Regions from separate parts of the Homo sapiens genome. Here region 2 is linked to region 1. The links are contacts of gene promoters, found by promoter capture Hi-C in human tissues and cell types (Jung and others, 2019). All regions are on one chromosome and are shown on one strand. Each heading gives the region's core, a stretch centred on a gene start or on the middle of the fragment in contact. The rest is flanking DNA. Distances are from core to core; before and after follow the strand shown.

The links. Contacts are between HindIII fragments. The study calls those that stand out against the background at their distance.
Region 2: a contact is called between a fragment that was not itself captured here and the fragment with the promoter of MYOZ1 in region 1, in 1 of the 25 tissues and cell types used here (IMR-90 fibroblasts).

What each region holds. Positions count from the first base shown.
Region 1 is chr10:73,639,162-73,644,818 of GRCh38, forward strand. It overlaps MYOZ1 (myozenin 1), which reads right to left and starts at 2,313. Exons shown (of 6, transcript NM_021245.4): 1 at 2,250-2,313; 2 at 784-874. The coding sequence starts at 856. RefSeq lists an enhancer at 4,937-4,986. The HindIII fragment of the contact is 11,584 bases long and covers 1-5,657 here.
Region 2 is chr10:73,591,663-73,598,274 of GRCh38, forward strand. It overlaps a transcript of USP54 not described here. Among named protein-coding and RNA genes, the nearest start is that of USP54, 3.6 kb to the left of the region's middle. RefSeq lists an enhancer at 1-713. The HindIII fragment of the contact is 7,322 bases long and covers 1-6,388 here.

The sequences.
Region 1 (5,657 bases), core at 1,063-3,562:
ACCCAGGCTGGAGGGTAGCGTCGCAATCATGGCTCACGGCAGCCTCCACCTCCCGGGTTCAAGCGATCGTCCCACCTCAGCCTCTGGAGTAGCTGGGACTCTAGGCACATGCCACTACACCTGGCTAATTTTTGTACTTTTTGTAGAGACGAGGTTTTACCATGTGCCTAGGCCAGTCTCAAACCCCTGAGTTCAAGCGATCCACCAGCCTTGGCCTCCCAAAGTTCTGGGATTACAGGCGTGAGCCACTGCACCTGGCCCAGACTTCTGTCTTAACTACTTTCCCTTTTCTTTCCCTCAGTGAGCTCTGGCTCCAAAGAGTCTCTAGGTATTGAAGAGCTCTTCACATGCATGCACCCCTGCCCACCCCCAGGAAACATGCCTGTGCAGTTTTCCATTTTAAGTACTTACACAAGCTCCCTAGCTCTGGGGAAAGAAGTAAGGGAAATTAACCACTTATTGAGACCTGAGTCTGTGCCAGTCTCCATTATATTTTCTTCCTCAAATATACCTCACTGACTCATGGGTCCTGTGGTCCTGGACCTGTGCAGGTAACATGGCAGGGTATTGTCTCAGATTATGAAGTGAAAAGGGTAGAAGGTGTTGAATCTTTTCTCTCTTTCTCCTTACCCTTCTTAATCTTCCCTCTCCCACTCCCCATCACCCGCCTTCCCACCACTTAATTTCTCTTGTTTGTTCACCCTAAGATATATATTTCTGGGACTCTTGGTTTAGGGATGCTCTTAAGAAGTCCCACACTAGGGAGATGCAAACATGTCCTACCTCCAGTGAGTTCCATGATCAGCTTGCTGGATTTCCTCTTCTTATTAGGGGCCGGGGTTCCTGAGAGCGGCATTGTGGAGGTGGATTCAGCCTGGACAGGGTGGGAAGGAGGAGTTGGTGGATGGACAGGGACTGGGAAGAGTGAGTGTCTGTAGGAGAGCAGCACTTCTTAACCTGGGTTTAAGGGCTTGAGGGGACAAAAAAATTTTTTTTTCTTTTTTAGAGACAGGATCTCACTCTGTCGCCCAGGCTGGAGTGCAATGGCACAATCATGCCTCACTGCAGCCTCAACCTCCCTGGGCTCAGGTGATCCTCCAACTTCAGCCTCCCAAGTAGCTGGGACTATAGGTGCGCACCACCGTGCCTGGCTAATTTTTGTATTTTTTGTAGAAATGTGGTTTTGCCATGTTGCCCAGGCTGGTCTCAAACTCCTGGGCTCAAGCAGTCCTCCTGCCTCCCAAAGTGCTGAGATTACAGGGGTGAGCCACTTCACCTGACCCAGATTTTCAAAGAAGCATGTATTTCCCCAAAAGGTGAAAACTTGCGCTTTAGGGCTTCTCTTTTCTTGGGATACAGGACAGGAAGTATAGATGCACACCAGCCCCTGTTGTCTACCAACCTGTTGTGAGCTGTTTTTCATAGAGTCAGTGCAGGAATTAGGAACATAGCTAGGTGTGGGGAGTGTTTAAAAAACAATAACACAAGCAGGGCAATGCACCCAGGTTTCATTGGCTTGGCATGATTTGAAGTTTTTATTTGCACTGGGATATCAGACTGGGGCTGTGATTCCAGGCTCTGGTCTCTCCTCAGTCTTCCCCCAGTCCCCAGGAGGACAGAGAAATATTCTGCCAGGGTTGAGGAGATTCAGCCAAAAACACTCTCCATAGGAAGGAGAGGTTGTTGCTCCTTCATCAGGCCAGCTGGAACATGGCCTGGGAAGTCATGGCCCTGCTCCTGCAATCACTCCCGCCACAGACCCCAGAGTGGAGGCAGGTGTGGAACTGGGAAGGGTAGGGAGCATTCAAATCCCGACACGTCAATTCAGCAATATCATAGCAGTGGGGAATTGAGGTGGGGCAGAAACATAGTAATAGGATCTGGCAATGGAAAGGGACAAACTGGGATAAGATGGACTCCAATCCCTTCTTAAGAGAAGTTGGCACTCAGTGAAATGCTGTCCTCTTCTAAGTCCTGTCTCAAAAAATACATCTGCAACTCTACTGACTTAGTGGGGTCTCCCTTCCCATTCTTCCAGTGCCTCCCCCGACATCTCCATTCCCCCCAACCTCCTGGGCCCCTCTCCTTCCAACTCTCCTTCCCCTCTCCTTCCAACTGGACAGCTGGGAGCTGAGCATAGATGAGGAGAGGGGAGACTCCCCCAGGATCAAGAATCACAATTGTAGACACAGACACAGAAGTCAACACAGTGGGCTCCAGCCTTTCTAACGATAGAGCTGGAGACTTACCGGCTGCTCGGGCAGTGGTCAGCTCTCCCTGGGGTCCAGCAGCTTTGGAGGACTGAGCTGCTGTGACCGGAGAACACGAGCTGGGCAGGCGTGGGGGCAGCACTGGCAGTGGGGGAGGGAAGTTGGTTATTAATAGAGATGATGAGCGCAAGCAGCTCAAATGGCACAGGGGGTACTGAGACCCTGGAACCAAGATCCCTCCCTCCTTGCCCGGAGGCTCAGGAAGGAGGGAAAAGGCCTTTGGGATTCTCCCACTGAACTGTCTGAGCCAGGGATCAGTCTGCCCAGGGACTCCCCTTCACATTGCACCTAGAGCCTGAGATCCAAAGAAGCACTTAGGGAGAAACTGAAGACTGAGAGGGAGACAGGAAGTAGACAGCAAGTATTGGATAGGAATTCAGTCAGAGAGAGAGAGTCTGGGGAACATGCCCTGAGGGCCACACAGAGCCAATCCAGGGCAGAGTGGAGAGACCTGTGGGTGTATTTGGAGCAGGGAGGGCTTAAAGTGCTATATTTGGGGACAAAAAGGGAAGTCTTCACAGTGGAACTGCTCTTTTAAAGTTCCTGGATAGGTTGGTCTTTTCTCGGTAAGGGCTAGATCTTGGCAGGTTAAGGGACCAAATTAACTAAACCCAGTACCTCCTACAAAGGAATGATGTGGGGAAGACTTGACAATTATTCTGTCTGCCTCACTCCCTATTCTTTCCTCTTGAGCTCTGGCAGTTTTAATAAAAGACAAACACTTGGATCTGCATTTTTTTTTTTTTTTTTTTGAGATGGAGTTTCGCTCTTTTTGCCCAGGCTGGAGTGCAGTGGTGCGATCTCGGCTCACTGCAACCTCCACCTCCTGGGTTCAAGCAATTCTCCTGCCTCAGCCTACTGAGTAGCTGGGATTACAGGTGTCCACCACCATGCCCGGCTAATTGTTGTATTTTTAGTAGAGACGGGGTTTCACCACGTTGGCCAGGCTGGTCTCAAACTCCTGACCTCAGGTGATCCACCCACATTGGCCTCGCAAAATGTTGGAATTACAGGCGTGAGCCACCGCCAGGATCTGGTCTCTAAGGAGTTATTCTCTAGCCACCACGCCCAGCCAGGATCTGCCTTTTAACCTCCATTTGCTGTTGAGATGCTCAGTTCAACCTGCTGTGCGGGATAGACATCGATGTCTCCCTGAGAAGCACATATAGGCTCTCTGAGGTTTCTTTTCTTCTTCTTTTTTTTTTTTTTTTTTGAGACGGAGTCTCGCTCTGTTGCCCAGGCTGGAGTGCAGTGGCGCAATCTCGGCTCACTGCAAGCTCCACCTCCCAGGTTCACGCCATTCTCCTGCCTCAGCCTCCCGAGTAGCTGGGACTACAGGCGCCCACCAACACGCCCGGCTAAATTTTTTTTTGTATTTTTAGTAGAGATGGGGTTTCACCGTGTTAGCCAGGATAGTCTCGATCTCCTGACCTCGTGATCCATCCATCTCAGCCTCCCGAAGTGCTGGGATTACAGGCTCTCTGAGGTTTCTACTTGAGATTTCCTGCAAAGGGAGCACATACCACATAGGATCTGGACTGTGCCATTTGTACTGTTCCAGCGGAGTCTCTGGGCAGGGCCACAGGCTTGAAAGCCCCTTTGGGGAAAGCCTATCATTTCCCCAGGCCCTTCTTCAGTAGCTGCATGATCTTCCTCCACCTTCTGCTTAGATTCTGGAACCAGTTGCTGCAGCACTTCTGCTGCAGCCACCACAACCCTGTTGCTGCTACCTGAGGAAGTGGCTTTATTTATTTATTTATTTATTTGAGACAGGGTCTCACTCTGTTGCCTGTGCTGAAGTGCAGTGGCACAATTTTGGCTCACTGCAACCTCAGCCTCCCCAGGCTCAGGTAATCCTTCGACCTCAGCCTCCCAGGTAGCTAGGGCTGCTGGTACATGCCACCACGCCCAGCTAATTTTCATATGTTTTGTAGAGACAGGGTTTCACTATGTTTCCCAGGCTGGTCTCAAACACCTGGGCTCAAGCAATCCTCCTGTCTTAGCCTCCCAAAGTGCTAGGATTATAGGCGTGAGCCACTGTGCCTAGCTGGCTTTTTAAAAAATTATTTCTTTCTTTATTTTAGAGATGGGGGTCTCACTATGTTGCCCAGGCTGGACTTGAACACCTGGGCACAAGTGATCCTCCTACCTCAGCCTCTGAGTAGCTGGGACTACAGGCACGCACCAGGAAGTGGCTTTTGTAACTTCCTTTGTCCCCTTCTGAGCTCTTTACTCTTCCTGACCATGTCCTTTTTCCATCCTGTGGAGACCCTAAAAGGTATCCCCTCACAGTTGGCTTCTGCCCAGGCTAGTTATGCCTCCAGACCCCTCATCTTTTGTCCTCCTCCATCCCCTCCCAACCCAAGGAAGCAATTAGAAGATAAAATAGGCCGGGCGTGGTGGCTCATGCCTGTAATCACAGCACTTTGGGAGGCCGAGGTGGGTGGATCACTTGAGGTCAGGAGTTCAAGACCAGCCTGGCCAACATGGTGAAACCCAGTCTCTACTAAAAATACAAAAACTAGTCAGGCATGGCGGTGCGTGCCTGTAATCCCAGCTACTTGGGAGGCTGAGGCAGGAGAATCACTTGAACCCAGGAGGCAGAGGTTGCAGTGAGCTGAGATCGCACCACTGCACTCCAGCCTGAGCCACAGAGGGAGACTCCATCTCAAAAAAAAAGAAGAACTATAAATAGCTAAAGGTGACTTCATCATCACTACCACCCTCACCCTCAAAAACAAAAACAAACTGAAAGTTTGATCTCCTTCAACTGAGTACCCAAAACGACTGAGTGGGTGAAGACAGGCTATTTAACCTATGGTCTCTGAGATCTTTTTTTGGAATTCTAAGACAGTGCACTTGGAAGAGTCTGCGGCCTGGGTCTGATTATTGGCACAAATGTGCCCTCTGCTGGCAGAATCAGAGCAATGGCACTTTCCTTCTCTGAAGTCTAATTCTCACCTACCTCCAACGCCCTCCCTTCTTTAGTAGTCTCAATTCAGCTTTATTCTTCCCTCTCCCATCCCACCTTCCCCTCCAGCCCTCCAGCCATTGCTTTCTCTTCATTTACTTCCCAGAGACTGTTTAATATGGTTGCTTCCTCTAAGGAGCGAGGAAATGTTGATAGCAAAGGGCTCAGAGGGCCTTTCCAACTTCTCTGAGTTCTGTGAACTGAAGCCTTACCTAGAAAGTATGAGGCAAGGGAGGGAAAGGGGAGAACTTGGATGAAGACTGTGGGGAGAGGGAACCAAGAAGAGTGATGGAGGTGGCTAAATCAAAGCAGGACAGAATTTGTATAAAAGAGCAAAAGACCTGGGAACAAAGGGCAAAAGGATGAAAAATGGGAGGGCAGGAAAAGAGACAGATCAGAAATCAGATCAGGGGAAT
Region 2 (6,612 bases), core at 1,478-3,977, 47 kb before region 1:
TGGGGCATTCCTGATGACAAAGGTCATTAAACAATAAGGTTTGCAGGGTGGCTGCTGCTTCCAAAGAAGGGCCAGTCCCCCACAAAAAAATTCCTTTGCACTGCAGTCAAAAGGAGCACGAGAAGACAACATTTTTGTAGTTGTTTACAGAATAATCAAAACAATGTTATTGTTGGAATCCCTAATTCAGAATTCCAAGACTGGGCTTAAATTAAATCAAATCATTTTAATAGGCAAAACTCCTCCAACTGTCTTAAACGAGCCACACTATTAAAGAAAATTATTATTTAAACTGAGCCATTGGAATCTACTGAGTCAATTTTAAAATGCTTGGGATCTAAGGGTTCTCAACCCCAAAGTCCACAACAGGGAAAGATCTCCACCCCTCTCTCGGGGAAGAGACCTAGTTACATCACCAAGAACAAACAGCAGGCAGAGTCCCACCCCCAAACATGTGATCAGTCAACCGAGAACTTGCATTTGCAGGCAGGGCACAAAGGCCCCAGAGGACCAACACACACCCTTCTATGTATTACCTGAGGTTATAAAACAGTTTTATTGAAAGAAGTTGTTTTATAAGCATACTGATGAAAAAAACTCATCAGCAGAATCCTTGCCAAATATGAAGGTCTGTTGTGTTTCTATAGGTTGAGAGAAAATATACGAGTTGACTAAAAAAAAGATGTAATTAAGATTTATTGGTAAAATTTAACAAACATGGGCAATGTCCAAAACTAATTAAGCTCTTACATTTTAACAATACAGTATATTAAATTGAAGTAGTCCTTTGGCCACAAGGAAAGTGCCACAAAAAAAAAAAAAAAAAAAAAGATACTGTTGCTTTTCTTGTTAACCATTAGCATTCTAACTCAGGTCTCCTAGTGGTGCTAGGTGGAGGAGGAGGTAGTAATGCCATTTCAAAGTGTGAAACACAAAATTTCTACTGATAAGTGCTGACTGCAAATAAAGACATACAAACATCAAGACCAAGCTCTTCAATCAAGTCATTAAAATATAGGTATATATTCATTGTGAAACTAATCAAATAAAACTAGAGTACTGGGACAGAGTTACAGAGCTTCAACCCTGATTACAACTAGACAACATTACTTTTCATGTCTCATCCAGGTAAGGGAAGTGATCCACAGGGAAATCTCACTCTAATAGATTGTAATCTCTCCAGAGGCCCCTCAGAAAACACCTCCCATAAAACTCTGCTATGATACTCACATTCTGCCTTGCATAAGTTATTTTCAGACATTTCTTATTCCCTCTTCAAGACTGCACAAGAGGTTCTGTGCCAAATAGAAAGAGAACCCTGTATCAACCACTGGGCTTCGCCATTCAAAATAAATTGGGTAACTACAAGTTTTTGTTAGGTGAGTGTCAAACTGCCTGTAGAAAAGGTTTTATAGGCCGGGTGCAGGGGCTCACGCCTGTAATCCCAGCATTTTGGGAGGCCATTGCGGGAGGATCATTTGAGCCCAGGAGTTCAAGACCAGCCTGGGCAACACAGGGAGGCCCCTTCTCTACAAAAAAAAAAAAGAAAGAAAGAAAGTTTTTAATTAGCCTGGTGTGGTGGCACGCACCTCTCTGGTCCCAGTTACTCCAGGCTGAGGTGGGAGGATCCCTTGAGCCCAGGAGGTCAAGGCCCCAGTGAGCAGTGATTGTGTCGCTGCACTCCAGTCTGGGCCACAGAGCAAGACCCTGTCTCAAAAAAAAAAAAAAAAAAGGAAAAATAAAAATAGAAAGAAAAGGTTTTGGGTACATGATTGCTAACTACGTCAAGAGGGAGAGTGATACATAGTGTTTCAGATTATTATTTTTTAAAATAGGGTTTTAGTTTAAATGTTCAGGTATTCTAAAGTTGGATGACTAGTTACAACAGTACTTTGTAAAACTGTGCTTCAACAAAACTTAACAAGTCATATTTTTCAAGTACTTTGCAGGGAATATGTAACACCACAATAGGTCCACCTTAGACCAGAATAGACAAAGGTCTCTGAAAAAATATAAATATTATTAGCAAGGAGAAACAATATTTAGGATTTGAGTAAATCAATCAAGAAAAATCCTTGGAGGGTAGTGGGGAGGGTAATGGAAAAGCACAGGCTGAAAAGTCCTATTTGGTCACATTCCGTAGCTTTTCATTATTGGTTTCTACTAGCAAATAGAGTAAGGTACAACAGAATGTTCAATGCATTGAAAGAACATTTTGCTTCTCTTAAAAGTCATAAAAGAGAAACAGAGGATTTCTCTAAGAAAAACCAAAATAACTCCCTCTGGAGTAACCCCAAAGTCAAACCATCATTGTCTTTTATTTCTGAGATGCTAATGATAATGCTGATGTCGGCAGTAAAGGCAGGAACTGAGTGGCTCCGCAGTAGGAACACGAGATTGGAAAATAAAAGACTCTTTTTTTTTTTGAGTCCAAGTCTTGCTCTGTCACCCAGGCTGGAGTGCAGTGACACGATCTCGGTTCACTGCAACCTCCACTTCCCAGGTTCAAGTGATTCTCCTGCTTCAGCCTCTTCAGTAGCTGGGATTACAGGTAGGTGCCACTACACCCAGCTAGTTTTTGTATTTTTAGTAGAGATGGGGCTTCACCATGTTGGCCAGACTGGTCTCGAACTCCTGACCTCAAGTGATCCACCTGACTCAGCCTCTCAAAGTGCTGGGATTACAGGTGTGAGCCACTGTGCCCAGCCAATAAAAGACTCTAGATTTTAGAATGTAGTGACAAAATTTGGGAACTTTTTAAGAGACAGGTTCTTCCTCTGTTGCCCAGGCTGGATGCAGTGGTGTGATCACAGCTCACTGAACCCTCAAATTCCTGGGTTCATGCAATCTTCTACCCTCAGCCTCCCGAGTAGCTGGGACTACAGGTGTGTACAACCAGACCCAGCTAATTTTTTAAAGATTTTTGGAGACAGGGTCTTAGTATGTTACCTAGGCTGAGACTTTTAAATAAACTGGAGGATTGGGGTGGGGAGGGGTGGGGAAGAGACTGCTTTATATCAAATGAAAGCCTTTATCATTTGATCCTGGGGAGAGGGGAAGCTTAATTCAGAGCTGTTAAACTGGAGTTCTAGCAAACAAAAATTAGAGACGGACTTGATCTTAGCTAATAAGGAACCTAAGAGAAAATATTCTAGCCTTTGACTCTAGGTTGTAAGGAAGAATATACCATGAAGTAGATGAAAAACAGGGAAAACTACATAACTAATTTGAGTCTAGTGGGTTTTTTTTTAACTTTTTTTTTTTAATCTTGGTTTTGTTTGAAGACAGAGTCTCACTCTGTCACCCAGGCTGGAGTATAGTGCCATAATCTCAGCTCACTGCAATCTCTGCCTCCCGGGTTCAAGTGATTCTCCTACCTCAGCCTCCAGAGTAGCTGGGATTACAGGTGCACACCACCACACCTGGCTAATTTTTGTATTTTGAGTAGAGATGGAGTTTCACCATGTTGGCGAGGCTGGTCTCAAACTCCTGACCTCAGGTGATCCACCCACCTCAGCCTCCCAAAGTGCTGGGATTACAGGCGTGAGCCACCAAGCCCCACTGGTGTTTTCTTTTAAAGACAGAGTCTCACTATGTTGCCCAGGCTGGAGTGCAGTGGCTAGTCACAGGTGCAATCCCTGTGCAATCAGAGGTGACTCTAGTTTTTATTCTGAGATTTATTCACAATGTTGGCAGAGCATGTGTACCTTAAAGAGCTGGTTGTTTCACTCAAGTATGCATTACTGAGAAGAGGAATATTGCAGAAAGGGTAGAGGGAAGAGAAAAAAACTGATCCAAAGAATACATTTTGGAGAAACTTTGGCTGTTAATCACAGACCTGAGCAGCAAAATCATACAAGAAATCTCTATATTTCTCATATAAATGGACTCTAAAGAAGAGAGGGAGATAGGGGCCACACATTTGGGCTTCTAATTATAGCATCATTATTGTTTAAATTCATTTATTTAACTATATCTTGCATAATTCTAAAAAGTATATCAAATAGCATTATGTCATTATGAACATTAACCACCCTGTCTATAGAACAAGGGTTTTTAAAAGTCTTGGACTGGACTTAAAGCTCCTAGAAAGCAAGAAGAGTATGAAAATCCCTCTCAAGCACACCAAAGAATTACCTAAATGCTAGTCTTACAGAAAGTAATCAGCCGGGCGCGGTGGCTCACGCCTGTAATCCCAACACTTTGAGAGGCCAAGGCAGGCGGATCTCTTGAGGTTAGGATTTTGAGACCAGCCTGGCCAACATGGTGAAAAACCCGTCTTGACTAAAAATACAACAATTAGCTGGGCATGGTGGCGTGTGCCTGTAATCCCAGCTACTCAGGAGGTTGAGGCAGGAGAATCGCTTGAACCCAGGAGGCGGAGGTTGCAGTGAGCTGAGATGGTGCCACCGCACTCCAGCCTGGGCAACAGAGCCAAGACTCCATCTCAAAAAAAAAAAACAAAACAAAAAAAACAGGCCGGGTGCAGTGGCTCACGCCTATAATCCCATCACTTTGGGAGGCCAAGGTGGACAGATCATTTGAGGTCAGGAGTTCAAGACCAGCCTGACCAACATGGTGAAACCCCATCTCTACTAAAAATACAAAAATTAGGCTGGGCACGGTGGCTCACACCTGTAATCCCAGCAGTTTGGGAGGCCGAGGCGGGCAGATCACAAGGTCAGGAGATCAAGACCATCCTGGCTAACATAGTGAAACCCTGTCTCTACTAAAAATACAAAAAAAATTAGCCAGGCGTAGTGGCGGGCGCCTGTAGTCCCAGCTACTCGGGAGGCTGAGGCAGGAGAATGGTGTGAACCCGAGAGGCGGAGCTTGCAGTGAGCCGAGATCGCACCACTGCACTCCAGCCTGGGTGACAGAGTGAGACTCTGTCTCAAAAAAAAAATCAGCCAGGCAGTAGTGGTACGCGCCTGTAATCCCAGCTACTCAGGAGGCTGGGGCAGGAGAATCACTTGAGCCTGGGAGGTGGAGGTTGCAGTGAGCTGAGATCAGGCCATCGCACTCCAGTCTGAGTTGGACAGAGTGAGATCCTGTCTCAAAAAAAAAAAAAAAAAAAAAGGAATAAAGGGTTTCTCAGTGTTTATGTTCAAGTAACTTTATTTTACTTAATAATATTCCCAAATGCAAGAGTAGTGATACTGGCAATTTAACAGGCCATAGAGAAGCCATAAGGTGCTTCCTTTAAGTGAAAAAGTGAAAGTTATCGACTTAATAAGGAAAGAAAAAGAATCATACACTAAAGCTGCTAAGGTCTACCATAAGAACAAATCCATGCATGACATTGTGAAGAAGGAAAGGAAATTCATGCTAGTTTTACTGTCACACCTCAAACTGCAAAAAGTCATGGCCATAGTTCATGGTAAGTGAAACCACCTTTGCAAAAATTATAACTGAGAAAATTATTACAGTGAAAGAGATCTGACTTACTTGACTCCCTGTTGCTTCTAACTTCCAAGCTGTCCTTGTTCATTCCTGGACATAAAGCGAACTAACTTTGGGAGGAACTTATAGTTTAACTTTGAAACAAAGACAAAAACACAGCCCTTTCCCAGAACAAACCCTCTTCTTGCCTGGGGACTAGACTGCCTTTGCAGGACTAACAAATTGCTACAAGATTAGAAATTATGCTTTAGGAATCATGCAGCTAAAGGCCCCAAGGTTCTACACCTCCCTAACTGCTCCTAGGGATAACATCACTAATGTAAAACCTAAGATTGGTGCTCAAGATATTTTTCAAACCCTGAACTCAATGGATCACCTGGCACCATCCAGATTAATAAACTGTCTCATCTGGTCTTGTGGTCCTACCCAGGAACTGACTCAGTGTAAAAGGACAGCTTTGACTCCCTGTGATTTCATTGCTGACCTAAGCAATCAACACTCCCCACTCTCTGGCCCTCTAACCACCAAAGTAGCCTTAAAAACCCCAATCCTGGAATATTCTGGGAGACTGATTTGAGTAATAATTAAACTCTGGTCTCCTGTGCGGCCAGCTCTATGTGAATTAAACTCTTTCTCCATTGCTATTCTCCTGTCTTGATAAATCAGCTGTATTGGGGCAATGGGCAGAATGAACCCATTCAGTGGTTATATAAGTGCTTAGTTAAGATGGAAAAGGCGGCCAGGTGTGGTGGCTCACTCCTGTAATCCCAACACTTTGGGAGGCCAAAGCGGGTGGATCACCTGAGGTTAGGAGTTCAAGAGCAGCCTGGCCAACTTGGTGAAACCCTGTCTCTACTAAATATATAAAATTAGCTGGGCATGGTGGTGGGGACCCGTAATCCCAGCTACTCGGGAGGCTGAGGCAGGAGAATCACCTGAATCCCCGGAGGCAGAGGTTGCAGTGAGCCGAGATCACGCCACTGCACTCCAGCCTGGGCAACAGAGCAAGACTCCATCTCAAAAAAAAGGTTGGAAAAGGCACTAAATTTGTGGGTGGAAGAAATGAACAGAATTATGTTCCAATTAACAGCTGTCAGGTTCAGTACTATTCATGGTTCCAGGCATCCACTGGAGGTCTTGCAACATATCCTTCATGGATAAGGAGAAACTACTGTAGTCTTTTAATAAATAGTGCTGGAATAATTGAAT